Regions from separate parts of the Homo sapiens genome. Here region 1 is linked to region 2. Evidence: promoter capture Hi-C in 16 types of primary human blood cells and fetal thymus (Javierre and others, 2016). All regions are on one chromosome and are shown on one strand. The core of a region is centred on a gene start or on the middle of the fragment in contact, and the rest is flanking DNA. Distances in the headings are between cores, read along the strand shown. Region 1 holds the start of NPPA (natriuretic peptide A). Region 2 holds the start of MTOR-AS1 (MTOR antisense RNA 1).

Region 1 (2,823 bases), core at 64-2,563, 700 kb after region 2:
GCCACCACGCCTGGCTAATTTTTTGTATTTTTAGTAGAGACGGGGTTTCACCGTGTTAGCCAGGATGGTCTCCATCTCCTGACCTCGTGATCCACCCGCCTTGGCCTCCCAAAGCGCTGGGATTACAGGCGTGAGCCACCGTGCCTGGCCTTTTTTTTTTTTTTTTGAGACAGTCTCGCTCTATCACCTAGGCTGGACTGCAGTGGCGTGATCTCTGCTCACTGCAACCTCTGCCTCCTGGGTTCAAGTGATTCTCCTGCCTCAGCCTCCCAAGTAGCTGAGAGTACAGGTGCCCGCCACCACACCCAGCTAATTTTTGTATTTTTAGTAGAGCTGGGGTTTCACCATGTTGGCCAGGATAGTCTTGATCTCTTGACCTCATGATCCGCCTGCCTCGGCCTCCCAAAGTGCTGGGATTACAGGCGTGAGCCACTGTGCCCAGCCCCCCCCCCTTTTTTTTTTAAGCATTTTCTCAGCAGACTAGCTAAGGACAATAGATGGCATGTCCTGACACCCATGGGGCACTCTGGGTGTTGGGGCAGAAACTTGAGAGGGAATGAGCTTCTGCATTGGTCCCTTTCCTGCTGAAGGTGTCTCCCAGTAGTGTCCATCCCATCCCATTTCCATCCCCAGTTCCTCTTACCCGGAAGCTGTTACAGCCCAGTCCGCTCTGGGCTCCAATCCTGTCCATCCTGCCCCCGAAGCAGCTGGATCTCCGCAGGCTCCGAGGGGCAGTGAGCAGCGCCCTCAGCTTGCTTTTTAGGAGGGCAGATCGATCAGAGGAGTCCCAGGGGCCCCGCCCGAGGGCACCTCCATCTCTCTGGGCTGGGCTGACTTCCCCGGTCCAGGGAGGCACCTCAGGGAGGGGGCTGAGAGCAGCCCCCGCTTCTTCATTCGGCTCACTGAGCACTTGTGGGGGCACGACCTCATCTTCTAAAGGCATCTTTTCTTCCAAATGGTCCAGCAAATTCTTTAGAAAAGGAAAATACAGGGAAAGGGATAAACCTCACTGACTTGGAGGAAATCAAGAGGAGTGAGCACAGCATCAGAAAGCCCCCTGGCCCCAGACTGCACCCGCTTTCCTGGCCCTACCTTGAAATCCATCAGGTCTGCGTTGGACACGGCATTGTACATGGGATTAGCTCTGGTCTGACCTAGGAGCTGGAATGCCAGTAAAAGGAGGAAGCTCACGGTGGTGGTGGAGAAGGAGCTCATGCTGGCGTCGTCAAGGAGCAATCCACTGCTTGCTGCTCTGTCTCTCCCCTCTGGTTCCTCTCTGGTTCCCCTCTCTTGGCCTACGTCTGTCCCTGTCTCCCAGCTGCCCAGTGCCGCCTCTTTTTATAGCCCCCCAGCTCTCCAAGCACGCAGGAGAGACAGAACCCTCCCCATTCTGTCACTTGCAGTGATAAAGCTGCCAAGTGAGAAGCCAGCAGGAGATGCCCTTTTAAAGTTATCATCCCGCAGGGCTTGTCACAGCCCCTCTCTGCCTTGGGCAGCCCCAACAGCCCCCCAGACCCTCAGCTGCAAGAGCCGCATTCTTACTGATTTGACTCAAGAGGCTCCCACTTCAAAGGTGTGAGAAGAGTAAAAAAGAGTCCTTGGTTATCTCACCGCCGTGCCTCAGGATTCTTTCTCCTCGACGCTGGTACCCGTGCGGGGAAACAGAGGGTGACGCTTGGCTGGTGCCCAGCTCCCCTGGTTTGTTTGTGGCTCAGCTGTCAGGGCCTCCAAATAAGGGTGGAGAGGAGGAAATGGCAGGCAGCCAGCAGCCCGAGACAAATGGATCCAGATGCTCAAGCTGGCCTCACACCTGCCTCATCCGCCACGTGGGCAGACCTCTGGCCTCAGACAGGGCTGCCTTCACCCCTGGCAGTCCCTCTCCATGGTCAGGCGAAAGGAAGTTATTTTTTAGTATATAAAGTCAGCTGAGAACCAAATGTGATGAAGCTCCCAGGAATCCAACCCCCAAATAGAAATAGCAAGAAAAGGCGGGGGAGCACAAGCATCCTCTCTCCAAAGCTCCTCCTCTTCCATGTCCCCCGCGACCCTCCTCCAGCATGCTGCGGGGACAGGCTTAGAGGACGCAGCCAATTTCATTTCTTCCGTTGCTGTTTATAGATGCTCAGACTCTTCGTGTCTGAAGTTTGTTAACATCCCCCTGCCCTTCCTGGGCTTGTGCCCGTGGCAACTTGACCGATGGAGGAAGGGAGGTGGGGGTGAAGGAGGTATAGTCAGTTTCCCTCAATGCCTTCTACATCCTTCCCTGAGGACGTGGCAAGTGGCAAGTGACCGAGCCACCAAGGTCACAATTTCCCTGGCCCCCAAAAGGGAAATAACAGGCAGCAAGTCTGTCTATGTTTAATGAATGGCCTGTTTGCTAAGCACTGAACTCAGTGTTAGCCATTACCATTCAATGCAACGTATACTGGGGGAAAACTCTAAATTTGAAGGGCTGAGAGACCAGTACTGTAGCCCAAAACAAACCAGTTGCATACCTCTTCGCAGCCTTACTTTCCTTGTGTGTAAAATGAGAAAGAATGTTAAAAACCGGCCGGGTGCAGTGGCTCACACGTATAATCCCAGCACTTTGGGAGGCTAAGGTGGGTGGATCACCTGAGGCCAGGAGTTTGAGACCAGCCCTACCAACATGGCAAAACTCTGTCTCTACTAAAAATATAAAAATTAGCTGGGTGTGGTGGCATGTGCCTGTAATCCCCGCTACTAGGGAGGCTGAGGTAAAAGAATTGCTTGACCTTGGGAGGCGGAGGTTGTAGTGAACCAAGATCGCACCACTGCACTCTAGCCTGGGCAACAGAGTGGGAC
Region 2 (3,098 bases), core at 507-3,006:
TACCCTTAACCTGAGATTCTATCAGCAAATCTCCGTTGTGTTTCACAGTGGATTTGGCTGTGGCTTGCAGGGAAGTTAAAATGTATCAGAAGGCCAGGCATGGTGGCTCATGCCTGTAATCCCAGAACTTTGGGAGCAGAAGCAGGCAGAACTCCTTTTTTTTTGGAGATGGAGTATCATTCTGTCCCTCAGGCTGGAGTGCAGTGGCGCAATCTTGGCTCACTGCAACCTCTGCCTCCCAGGTCCAAGCGATTCTCCTGCCTCAGCCTCCCAAGGAGCTGGGATTACAGGTGTGCGCCACCACGCCTGGCTAATTTTTGTATTTTTTTCTTTTAGCAGAGAGGGGGTTTCTCTATGTTGGCCAGGCTAAGTCTCAAACTCCTGACCTCAAGCAATCCACCTGCCTCAGCCTCCCAAAGTGCTGGGATTACAGGTGTGAGCCACCATGCCTGGCCAAGTGAACTCCTTTTTCATCCTTGTTGATAAGAAGTCAGACTCAGAAGGGGAGTTCCTGAGATCTACTGCTTCATGGTAAATTCCATGAACCCATGGAGCTGTCCTCCATGGAGATAAACTTAAAAGTCTAGCGACAATGATCTCAGGCTTTTAGCTATGATAAGATGCAGTCTGAGCCTGACTGGAGAACCCAAGGCTAGAAGAGACCCAGCGCCAGTAAGGCTGACCTCTCTAACTGCCCTATGGGAGGGTCTTAGGAACCAAAAGCATTGGTGCAACTCCAAAGAAAAGTAACAAACATGTATTTTTCCACTACTATAATACTGGTTGGGGATTTTAATTTAAATGATTTGACCACAAAATGGCAGTTTTCTAGCCCCAGCAGTTCATTTGACAGCAAGCCATCCACAAGAGCCAAATTTCCACTATAAATGTAATGCTTTACTTTCAGGCCTTGGACCACATTTTTCCATCCCATGAAGTGTGACAACAATGATTTCGAAAGTTAAAATAACAGAAAAAAGTACACTGAGTGATTGTTTTTTGTGACTTCTCACCAATAGTTAGGTTCTCCCAGATGCTGAAATAATTTGGCCTCCTGTAAGCCAAAAAGCATCTTGCTGCCTCAAGATAGGAAAGTCACGAAGGCTTAAGGTGGTGGCAGTGTCCTGGACCCAGTAAAGTCAGACAGGCATCTCTCTTCCCAGGACTCATTCCATGCCTCCCCTCTCCTCTAAGTCTACATTTGGATCAAGTCCCACTTGTCAGACTGTCAGAAGGTTCATCAGATCTCTGCTGTAGAAACTCTTTATTATAGGCATTTCAAAGAATTGGGGTGTGTACAAATCAAGTGGGAAATGCTTATTTGTGGAATTCTTTCTGGTGCCCAGGAGACAATTTTCCATCAAAACATTCACTGGGCATTTCATAATTACTAATAAAACATGTAAAAGAACTGTATGTGCTCATTTCAGAGCCATAAATGACTGTATTCATAGATGTTCCTTTGCCCATTGCTCTTTCCTGTCCAGGGGAATGTGCCCTGAGCTTCCTAGGCAGGAATGTGTTTGGAGTCAAAAGGTTTTGTCGCAGCCTACTGAGACGCCTGGAAGCACAAACTTCGATTGGTCTGAAGCGAGAATTTGGAATTAGCAATTAGGTGGGGATCTAGTTGAGAGGAAATGGTTTATAATTGCGGGGATGGATTATGATAGGTAGGGAGACAAATGGTTTCTGGAGTGGTAAAGGCTTTCTCTCTTTTTTCTTTTGCTGATGAACTTCCTATCCTACCCACTCAAGGAATGGGATAACTGGCCATCCTTCCCAGAACATTTAGACTCCTGACTCCCAGACCTGGAGTGACAGTTTCTCATGTTAAAATGATCAGAATGTGAGAATGAAAACACTGATGGAGGACTTGGGAAAGCTTCTTCTCTACAAGCGGAAACTGCAGTGGAAAAAAAGTCTCAATAGAGGCGACAGGATGACTCTGACCTAAGTAGCTATAAATAGCAGGAGTTGGCCAATGAGAACCTAAGGCAACCCCATCTGAAAAGCTGGTGCAGGTGGCCTCCAAGTGTAGTTAGAGCAGTGGTTCTTAGCTTTGGCTGGTGGAATCATCTGGGGGAACCTGAAAAGATACTGATCCTGAGTCTCTCCCCAGAAATTTAATTGGCCTGGGGAATAGCCTGGGCATCAGGATTTTAAAAAGCTCTGCAGGTGATTCTACTGTGCTGCTAAGGTTGAGAACCACTGATTTTGAGGTTATGATTCCTAACTGACTGGTCACAGGTGTCACTTACTAAAAAACATTTTTTTTAATTCCTAGAGAAGAGAATAAGAAGAGACTGGAAAATTGGTCATTCTCTCACAGCTTAAGTTTAGGTGAGGAGCCTTTGAGTATTCTGCTTTGTATGCAAGCCAAGCAATACACTGGTGGAGGAGGCAGGAAAAGCAAGTTGAGTAAGAGCCAGGGTGGAGGGGGGCACTCACCCAGGTCCTGGAAGGGGTAGGGGTAGGTGGGTGAACTGGGGCTTTCTACCAAGCTCACCTGCAGTCTCTCCCACCAGATCTGGCGGATGATCTCTCGTCGCTCGGGGACAAGTTTGTACTGGATAACCTCCTCCAGCTCGGACAGCATGTGGCAAGAAACCATGGCCTGATGGAAGCAAATCGCATTCCAAACTAATTACTGCACGAACAATCCAAAAGACAGGATTAATTTAAATCATTCCTTCTGGTGTCAGGGTATCTGCCGATCAGAGAAAACAGGCATGTTTCCAGCAGCCTGTAAGTTCTCAATAGCCCATTCTGAAAAAAGTATGGAAATAAGCCTCAAAAATGACAATGTGCAGAATAGTTGACACTTACCCCATATGCCCGACTGTAACTCTCTCCTGCCATCGCAGTTAATTCAGCATCCAGCAGGTCCCTGGCCTTGTCAATGCACTAGAAGAGAAACAACCCTTGGGACTGAGCTCTGGACTTGGGAGCTTAGGGTTATTTTAGGGCACCCCAACTAGCTACAGAAGTTATCTGTCTCACTTAAATTCCAGGGATGAAAAGAGAAATTCGCTGAAGAAGGGCATTTTCCCAGAACTGAATGGCTTGAGAGGAGGTATTATCCAATTTCTCATCGAAGA

What was found. Contacts are between HindIII fragments. The CHiCAGO score rates a contact against its expected background, and 5 or more counts as called.
Region 1: a contact is called between the fragment with the promoter of NPPA here and the fragment with the promoter of MTOR-AS1 in region 2, in 5 of 17 cell types (total B cells, total CD4 T cells, naive CD8 T cells and 2 more). The highest score is 9.0, in total B cells.

What each region holds. Positions count from the first base shown.
Region 1 is chr1:11,846,470-11,849,292 of GRCh38, forward strand. It overlaps NPPA (natriuretic peptide A), which reads right to left and starts at 1,314. Exons shown (of 3, transcript NM_006172.4): 1 at 1,093-1,314; 2 at 644-970. The coding sequence starts at 1,215. It also overlaps NPPA-AS1. RefSeq lists an enhancer at 350-2,140. The HindIII fragment of the contact is 12,440 bases long and covers 1-2,823 here.
Region 2 is chr1:11,142,142-11,145,239 of GRCh38, forward strand. MTOR-AS1 (MTOR antisense RNA 1) reads left to right here and starts at 1,757. Exons shown (of 4, transcript NR_046600.1): 1 at 1,757-1,846; 2 at 2,526-2,745; 3 at 3,012-3,098. MTOR (mechanistic target of rapamycin kinase) reads right to left here. Exons shown (of 58, transcript NM_004958.4): 33 at 2,827-2,904; 34 at 2,507-2,614. The HindIII fragment of the contact is 11,786 bases long and covers 1-1,880 here.